Regions from separate parts of the Homo sapiens genome. Here all the other regions are linked to region 2. The links are contacts of gene promoters, found by promoter capture Hi-C in blood cells and fetal thymus (Javierre and others, 2016). All regions are on one chromosome and are shown on one strand. Each heading gives the region's core, a stretch centred on a gene start or on the middle of the fragment in contact. The rest is flanking DNA. Distances are from core to core; before and after follow the strand shown.

Region 1 (2,744 bases), core at 225-2,724, 340 kb before region 2:
CAAAGAACTGTGAGTTGGGATGGAAGGATCAAGGAATGAAGGTGCCTGTAGATCCTATATAATTAGGCTATCGCTCCCTGGCAAACAGCTTGTCAGAGGTGAGGTGCTGAGCAAGGATGCTTATGGGCAGGTAGGAACAGTGGTGGCCCTGATTCTGTTGCAACTTAACCTGATAACAAAGTTAAGCAACTTAACCTGATGATGAACTATGACCTGAAACTTCTCTCCTTCATCCTCTGTGTTTCTTTTCCCAGCTCAATTCCACCCCTCAAAGTATCTTAGCTAAGACAATATTTAAATGTATTACCTGAGGGAGGAAACGGGGCCAAAGGAAATGTTGGCAGGGCCAGGGCCAGGGCCTGGGCCAGCATGGTTATTTGGTTCTAAATCTATTAATACAAGGAAGATTGACATAGACCAGCAGGGCCTCGGTCTCCTCACAGAACTGTGAGTCTTTAAATTATGCTTTAAATTATGCTGTTTACCTCTTTCTATTTCTCTTGGCTTAACGTAAAGGAGTAGCACATGTCTTACCTTCATCTACTAAGTGGCAGGAGACTGAAAGCACATTAGTAATTCTGACTCCGAGTGGTCTTCTCTCTCTAATCTCTCAGCCTTTAAATGGTACAGTGTTCACCCTTTACAACATCTGCAACACTGAAGATAAGCAAAGGCTGCAAAATTAGTTTTTAATAATGTAGGGTGACCATATATCCTGGTTTTGTCCAACCTTAATTTTAATAATAGAATGAAAAGCTCCCTTCCATGCCTACATGAGCTAACACCTCGCTTTGGAATGGGTGAATACTTGGCATTTCTTGTTTTGTTTTTCAGAGACAATAAGAAACGTTACACTTGGCATCCTTTTGCACTAGGAATTGTGCCAAAACATGCCACTAGATGCAGAGCTAAAAGATGATACACTGGCTCATGCCTGAAATCCCAGCAGTTTCGGAGGCCGAGGTGGGCAGATCATGAGGTCAGGAGTTCGAGACCAGCCTGACAAACATGGTGAAACCCCATCTCTACTAAAAATACAAAAATGAGCTGGGCGTGGTGGCATGCACCTGTAATCCCAGCTACTCAGGAGGCTGAGGCAGGAGAATAGCATGAACCTGGGAGGCAGAGGTTGCAGTCAGCCAAGATTGCGCCACTGCACTCCAGCCTAGGTGACAGAGATAGACTCCATCTTAAGAAAAAAAAATGATACACAGGGGAACAATGTTAACTATATAAGTACCAGCAATCATTTGGAAGTGCTTGTTGGTCTCACTTATCATAGATTTAATAGCCAGAAAAAAATTTAACAAGAAATAGTTTTAAATTCCTTTTTCAGATGTTAGGCATAACAAGACAGGTCTCAAGACAGGTGGTTTGGTATAATGACTAAGAGCTTGGGTTCTGGATGCAGACTGCCTGGGCTCAGGTCCAGGCTTGCTTCACTTACTCTGTGTCCTTGAGGAAGTGGCTATCCTCTCTGAGCTTTATTATCTACAACAGTAAACAGAGATAATCATACTGTTACAAATCACATAGGGTTTTGTAAGAAATTAATTGGGTAACAGAGTTAAGTGCTAGGACTCAGTAATCACTAGTTCTAATCATTACTTAAAATTCAATCATTATTTTAACAATATACTATAGTGGTACTATATTTGCTCTTTGTACTATGTCTAGTGGTTAAGAAAATATATCGGCCGGGTGCAGTGGCTCACACCTGTAATCTCAGCACATTGGGAGGCCAAGGCGGGTGGATCACGATGTCAGGAGTTCAAGACCATCCTGGCCAACGTGGTGAAGCCCTGTCTCTACTAAAAATACAAAAAAATAAGCCGGGTGTGATGGTGGGTGCCTGTTAATCCCAGCTACTTGGGAGGCTGAGGCAGGAGAATCGCTTGAACCCAGGAGGCAGAAGTTGCAGTGAGCCGAGATCGCGCCACTGCACTCCAGTCTGCGTGAGAGAGTGAGAGTCTGTCTAAAAAAAAAAAAAAATCATTTGTCAAAATTCACAGCAAAACCCTTCTTCATAAACCAATTCCAGGAAGCAATACAGTAATGGATCTTCCTAAAACCTGAAGTTATTGGGATAGTAATTCCTTTCTTAAACTCTAGGTAAGACTTATCCCAATTTAGAGCTTTGTAAAAAAAAAAACTTAAAATTCATTCCACTTTTTGTCCTTAGTAAAAGAACCCTGATTTTTCACTAGTTATTTTACGCCCAAATGAAGATCTACATTTCCCAGCCTCTCTTGTAGTAACAGCTGGACAAGAAGTAGTAAGCAGAAGCTGTTGGGTGAAACTAGGCAGGAAGGCTCCTCAAGTGAATGGACAGATGATTTGGGCATTTTTGCCCCCTCTTATTATCCTGTTCCTGCCTCTCTGCCTGGAACTTTGTTGTGAGAGTTGGAGGGTCAACAGCCACAAAGTAACAGTAAGGATTGAAGCCATGCTTGAAGAATGATAGAAAAGACAAGAAGTTGCCTGAACATGAAGTCACCATACCTGATCTTGACTCTGTTCTTTCAAATTCCTTTTATGTGAGAGAGAAACAAATGACTCTCTTGTTTAAGTCACTGCAATTTCTGAATTCTAGGAGCCAATGCAATTGATGTAAGCATTTTACGCACATTTTATGTGTGATGTCACAACGGAAGCTGGCTTGGGTGTAAAACATAACTTTCTGATTGGGCAGGAGAGGAACAAGCTAAGGGATGGGACTGAGCTACAGTGGCTCATGTAAGACA
Region 2 (2,897 bases), core at 200-2,699:
GAGGAGCTATCCCTATGCTCTGCTGCCACCTTGGAAACTCAGAAGGATTTACAACGGAGTTCTGCACAGGGGAAGCTGGAAGCAGCATTCCCACAGCCTCTTCTGGGGCTGGCAAGGCTCAGAGAGGCATTTGAAATGGCTATTATTGACACCCATAGACTTGGGTATGTTTCAGAGAGAAACTATAACATCTATCTCATGGGAAAACACACTTTCTCTGTTTTTAAATAACTCCGTTTCAGCAAGATCCATGTGTGTAGCCTCTGAATACTCTATAAAGGCTCCGTATTTCTTTCTTTCTTTCCTTAGTCCGGAATGGAGACAGAAGAAAGATTCGGTTGAAGATGTCCCTGTGTGGATCTCAGTTTGCGCTCTGAGCGACGTCCTGGCTCATTTGGGTGTGACGGTGAGAGCAGAGGCGCTCTGCTGACAGTTTTTTCTTGTCTAAGCTTCCATTCCGCATCCACAATATGACTCGCCTTCCACTCCAGTTAACTTCTTGGAAGTCCAGAGCACTTAGTCAAAGCTGTTTACAAAATGCAAAGCATCTGGGCGGCCAAGGCAGAGGCTCCTGTGTTCTCTATGTAACCGCCTCCAAAAAAGCTGGGAAATTTCGCGGATCAAAATGTAGGCGCTTAAAGCTGACCCTCTGCTGTCAATGTTGGGACTTAGATACATTTTTTGCATCGTCATTCTTGTGTGTGTTTCCCGTTTATTCCATTCTAAGGCTCAGGCTCGCGCTGTTTCTCTCGCGCGCGCTGTCCCCTCTCTCCATTTCCCATTCACACATCAAACTCCGTCCTCCGCACCCCTATCTTCCCGTGTCTTCTTAGTTATGTGAATGTGTGTCATTAGGCTTACTCGGACACTGGATGGGTGAGTGGGAGGCAGCTTTTCTTGCGGTTTCATTTACACTTGGCATGGGTGGGTGGGTGCCCTCCACAATTCGTCTCGCACACGGAACACAGTTAAAATCTGTAGCTAGAACGAGTGAAAAGTTCCGAATCTTTAAAGCGCAGCTAGGACAGGAAATAATACAGGGTTGGGGGATGTGGACGGGGGCGGAGAGCAGAGAAGTAAAGGAATAAAACCAACTTCGCTGGCAACTTCAATAAATCCGGTAACTGGAGGCAAAAAATAGACTCCGAGGGCTGGGTCTGGTCCGGATGAAACGCTAGGGCTCCTTCCCTTCCTTGAATCTTGGGCGCTGGAAGCCAGCCACGGGCGTCTTGCCACGCGAGTGCCCCTAGACAGCAACACACCCACTGGAAACGCACGTGAACAAAGCTCTCGCCCCCGGGAGCCGCTGCCTGCGGTTTCCTAGTCGATCCCAGCTTCTCTAGGGAGTGTCAGGCGCACACAGGGTTAAGTTAGTTCCCTCCCTGGTAGGAGGGAGAGGAGGAGGAGGGGAAAAGCAGCATACTGTCTCAGGCTGGGTACCTTGTAGTTAGTTGTACGTTCGAAACCTGTCGCCGTCACTTGCGCGTTTGGCATTATCCATTGTCACCGCGGAGGAACGAGCGCTCGAGATATCATCAGTGCCCGCAAATCTCCGCGCCAAGGCGCTGAGCTACTCCTTTCCGAGGTGCGCCTCTGGTCCTCCGTCCCTGGTGCCCAGCAGCGGCGAGGCGGCATCTCCGCTCCCGCCGCCGTGTCCACCGAGCCCTGGGATCAGGGTGGCAGTTCTCAACGATGGGCAGGAGGGACCTCGGCGGCGACCCCTAAAACAATACCATGCCCCGGGATCCCCGCTGCTGCCGCGCCAGCGTCTTCCCTTTCCACCTCCCTGACCCTGTCGGATTCGGATGAGCCCATTGCAAGGAGAAGACGCAGCCGTCAGGTAAAAGGGGCTGCGTTGCCAGGTGAAGTTTCCAGTAACCGGCCGAGCTGCTGCTACGCTGGCACCACGCTGTCTCTTCGGGGGATTTTTTTTTTTTGAAAGAGCTGGGGGTGGTCATCTTAAGTGGGGTGCTCTAGGCTTTGTCTTTCACCTGGAGAGAAAATAGGCAGCTTAGCTCTCTCTCGACTTTGGGGACATCTGTCTGCTGGTCGAATCCACCTCCTCTACGGAGCATCATGACTGAGTTCTGGGTCAAAACGCAAATTTTCTTGCCTGGTAGATGCATCGATGCTAAATTGGGGTTCTCAGTGCCCCTAACCTTGTCAGAGTTCAGTCTCCTACTTCCCTAGATTGAATCTCTTAACTTTCACCAGTAACAACCCTCTCCCCTCCACAAGCTGTTGTTAATGTCACCAGCGTTATTATCAGGCTGTTGTATCTAAAGACACCAACCTACTACCTGCCCGTAATCTGGGATCTATTAGCAGTTAAACAGATGCGGTGGATACTAATTCCTTTTCCTTCCAGTTGGTGGGGGCGGGTGGGGCTTTTTCCAAAACCAAGTCCCTTCCAGCCCTGCTTGTCCTCTTCGGGCTGGCGGGCACTGAGCTGGGGCCATCACGCCTTTCTAGAGCGCCTGCGGAGGTGGCGAAGGCTTGGAGAGCATACGAGGCGGAATCCGGATCGAGTGAGTTCCTTGAGCCGCTTGCGTGGGACGCAGGGAGAGGGCGAATAACGCCCTCAGGCGCTGAATGCAGGGGCAAGGAGCCAGCGAGGGTGGCTGGAGCAGGCCTTGCCAGCTGTTACCAAGTCTCTCCACAGGCTTGGGGGCTTGGGGCCTCCTGGAAAGATCCCTCCGCCGCGCTGACCAGTACGGGGCTCGCTCCCGCACTTTGAAGGCTGCCGCGGTCTTTCGTCATTTATAATCAAGCCCAAGATCAAGGTTGCAAGCTGAGGTCGGGGTACTGACAACGGGAATGAAGCCATAGGGGAAGAGGATAACTGGGACGGGCTGGACCCATACTTGATACCCGGGAAACTCCTAGAGCGTGTGGTG
Region 3 (2,898 bases), core at 236-2,735, 500 kb after region 2:
GAATATATGTGTGTGTCTACACATACTTGTGTACACACATCTATAATACATAAATTAGTTAAATGCAAATCACTACTGGTACAGCAGAGTTTAGGCACCTAATAATAGTGGAAGGTAGGAAGAAGCAGGTTCACGGGTGTTAGTGAATAACGACTGTGAATCTAACAGATACAAAAGTGAAAACAAATACGTCAAAAGGAAATAGAAGAAATAAAGCCACCCAGTAAAGGGCAAATCCAGTCTCCGGAAGAGATCTCCACCATGGCCTGGATCAGTGTTAGTATTCACAATGATGACATGGAGGAATGTGAAAAACAGTTATTACACTTTTAAAAATTTAAGTACCAAATAGTATAATTCTTTACAAGTATAGCTAGTTTCCAGATGTGTAAAGAAAACTTGCATCATTAAAAAATAATTCAAAAAGCAATTTTCTGAATATTTAAAGAATGTGCTTATCTATGTCTTACTTTTAAAACTATCCCCTGGCAGAAGTTCATTGAGTTTTTCTATTTAAATAGAAGAGGCTGCCTTTTGTTAATGCACTTTTGTTAATTGCACGCTTAATGAATCTCCACAGGAGTCCCACCATGAGAGGCACGATCCTATTTCTCAAATAAATATTTCTCAAGCTTCTACTGACATGTGGCCCCAGATGAACTTTTCTGTTTCTACCAGGGCTATCATAATGTGAAATCTTGGAGAAAGTCCACAGAAGGTTAGGTCTCTCTGTTGAGAGATATTAAATGTGAACTCTGTGAAGCTCCTCTTTTGGTGGCAAGTTGAGTATCAAGAGAGATTTTTATGAAGTGTGAAATAAATCATGGATTTTCTGAGTTTTAATTTAAAATATTATAAACAGTTGTATATTCTTTGTTATTACATTTTCTTAAGGGAGGGCCCCATGATGACATCTCTGGGCTGGGGAGGCAAAACATATGAATATACTGGACCAATCAAATGATAGGCTTCATACAACTTGGACAAGTAAGTCTATAGTCAGGTGGATTTTCAATATTATCTGAAAAGATGAATAGAAATTTATGAGCTTATGTGAAATTTATCTGTGTTTTGTTAGCATAGATATTTCAGAGTTCAGCTCACACATCACTGCACCCATGTTGAGGAAGGCATATAGAAGGAATGTCTAACACATTTTATTAATTGGGTAAGTAGACCAGTGTGATTTAGCAACATATACAAATACAGTAATACATATTGGAAGCCTTTTCATTACATTATAACAGGAGTAGCAGTAACTCAAAAATGGCATTATAAAAGTAAAGATCTTTGGAAGTTACTTTAATGAAAAAATGTAACTTGTAATTATCACATCTTTAATTATGACATTTAATTACGAGCTTAACATTGACCTTTTTCCTCAAGCATTTAAACATACCAACTGAGAATATCCTCAAATTACTAATTTTCTTGCTAATGTTTTTCTCATATTAAAAGAAAAAATAGTAAATTCTAGCCAAGTCAATGTCCACAGGTGTCAGATTTAAATTAGTGCATCCCTGAGGAATGATTTTTTGTTTTTCTTTAAAACATGTAAAAATAGTGAAAATTTGGCTTTATAAATATTGATATTGAACTTATCCCAAAATTCCATACAATGGTAATGACTGGGGAGCTAGTACAGGTTATTAAGATGTTTTATCAGCCTTTGAGACACTACTCGACTGTAGAATTACTGAAAATGCACCTCCCTCTTGAAATGTCATTTTAAAAAAGATGATGCATTTCTGAAAGACCCATCTGTTTTTTAAAACTTCATGACTATTTTCTACATACTCACTGATCCCCTACTTGTTTGATGGGAGCAACTGTTCGAAACAAAACTAAAATCAACCAGATACTAGGCTCTATCTATTCATAGATTGATTTCAGATTGGTTGCCTCTTTAGATGTCACATAAGGTAGCTCTGCTAAGTTCGTGGTCTCATCCCTGTTTGGGAATCTTGTTGTGTGTGAATTTGGCAGGTGGAAAGAACTTAGAGGCCGAGGATATCCAGGATGCACATGTTGCCAGCAGCTACTATCAAAGTTTAAGGTAATCTAGGGAATACTGATCCCCCTAGGTGAAGATCTTCATAGCTCAGAGTTTCATGATAGCATAAATTATGTTATCACTACTTCATCAGAGTACTGCTATGCGGCCTCCCATATTGGCAAGATATTTTATTATTCAAAGTTTATTGCAATTACTAGACACTTCCAAACCAGAAACCTATGATATCCCATTTTCCTCATTTGGGTCTTCTAATTTTATTTGCATGTATAACATCTGTTTAGCTCAGAGCAGTGAACAAGCAATTAAGACTTAGCTGATAATAGAAGCTTTGGGATTTTTATTTACATATGTTTCAAAGATTAACATAAATACACAGAGAACACACATACACGTAAGTACAAATGCACACATGTATGTGTTTAACTTTTAAACTATGTATATCCTTAATAATAATTATTAACATCTTTTACTTCCAGTGAATTGCCTTTTCATTTATTATCTTGTTTCTCAAGTGGGATATAAGTGTCATGGGGAGGATCTGAAAATGGACTCCATAGAAAGAGACTCTGAGATGAAAGGTAACTTGCAGATTTATTTGGCAGTGTTTTTCAGCCCTATATTACTAAGATAGTTAGAAAAGCAGGATTGAGCACATGGAGAAGCTGACCTGGAATGAAATTGCAACTGAAATTTTATTGGTTCTATAAGAAGCTCTGGAGTTGAGATGCCCTTTCACAGTGGGTGCTTCTAGTGAGGGTGCAGTAGGGGGTTGGAGAAAGGGGCAACCTAACCTTGGACCAAGCAGTTGCAATGGCCAAGGCCAATCCCAGGGATCAATGCAGCTATAAGCCGCTAGGGTGTGCTGTTCCTAACAGCTGGGG

Evidence for each region. The method cuts DNA at HindIII sites, captures the fragments that hold promoters and counts their contacts. A CHiCAGO score of 5 or more calls a contact.
Region 1: a contact is called between a fragment that was not itself captured here and the fragment with the promoter of FLRT2 in region 2, in 1 of 17 cell types (M2 macrophages). The highest score is 6.4, in M2 macrophages.
Region 3: a fragment that was not itself captured here is called in contact with the fragment with the promoter of FLRT2 in region 2 in 3 of 17 cell types (M1 macrophages, M2 macrophages and M0 macrophages); the score reaches 6.7 in M1 macrophages.

The regions. Positions count from the first base shown.
Region 1 is chr14:85,190,773-85,193,516 of GRCh38, forward strand. It overlaps LOC105370604 (a long non-coding RNA gene), which reads right to left. Exons shown (of 4, transcript XR_944102.1): 1 at 2,503-2,744; 2 at 1,448-1,491; 3 at 535-657. Among named protein-coding and RNA genes, the nearest start is that of SNORD3P3, 80 kb to the right of the region's middle. The HindIII fragment of the contact is 6,139 bases long and covers 1-2,744 here.
Region 2 is chr14:85,528,695-85,531,591 of GRCh38, forward strand. FLRT2 (fibronectin leucine rich transmembrane protein 2) reads left to right here and starts at 1,450. Exons shown (of 2, transcript NM_013231.6): 1 at 1,450-1,840. FLRT2-AS1 (FLRT2 antisense RNA 1) reads right to left here. Exons shown (of 2, transcript NR_184170.1): 1 at 1-2,897. The HindIII fragment of the contact is 5,870 bases long and covers 448-2,897 here.
Region 3 is chr14:86,033,221-86,036,118 of GRCh38, forward strand. All of the region lies in intron 1 of LINC02328 (long intergenic non-protein coding RNA 2328), which reads left to right. The region is part of intron 4 of LINC02316 (long intergenic non-protein coding RNA 2316); the gene reads right to left. Among named protein-coding and RNA genes, the nearest start is that of LINC02316, 28 kb to the right of the region's middle. The HindIII fragment of the contact is 1,711 bases long and covers 631-2,341 here.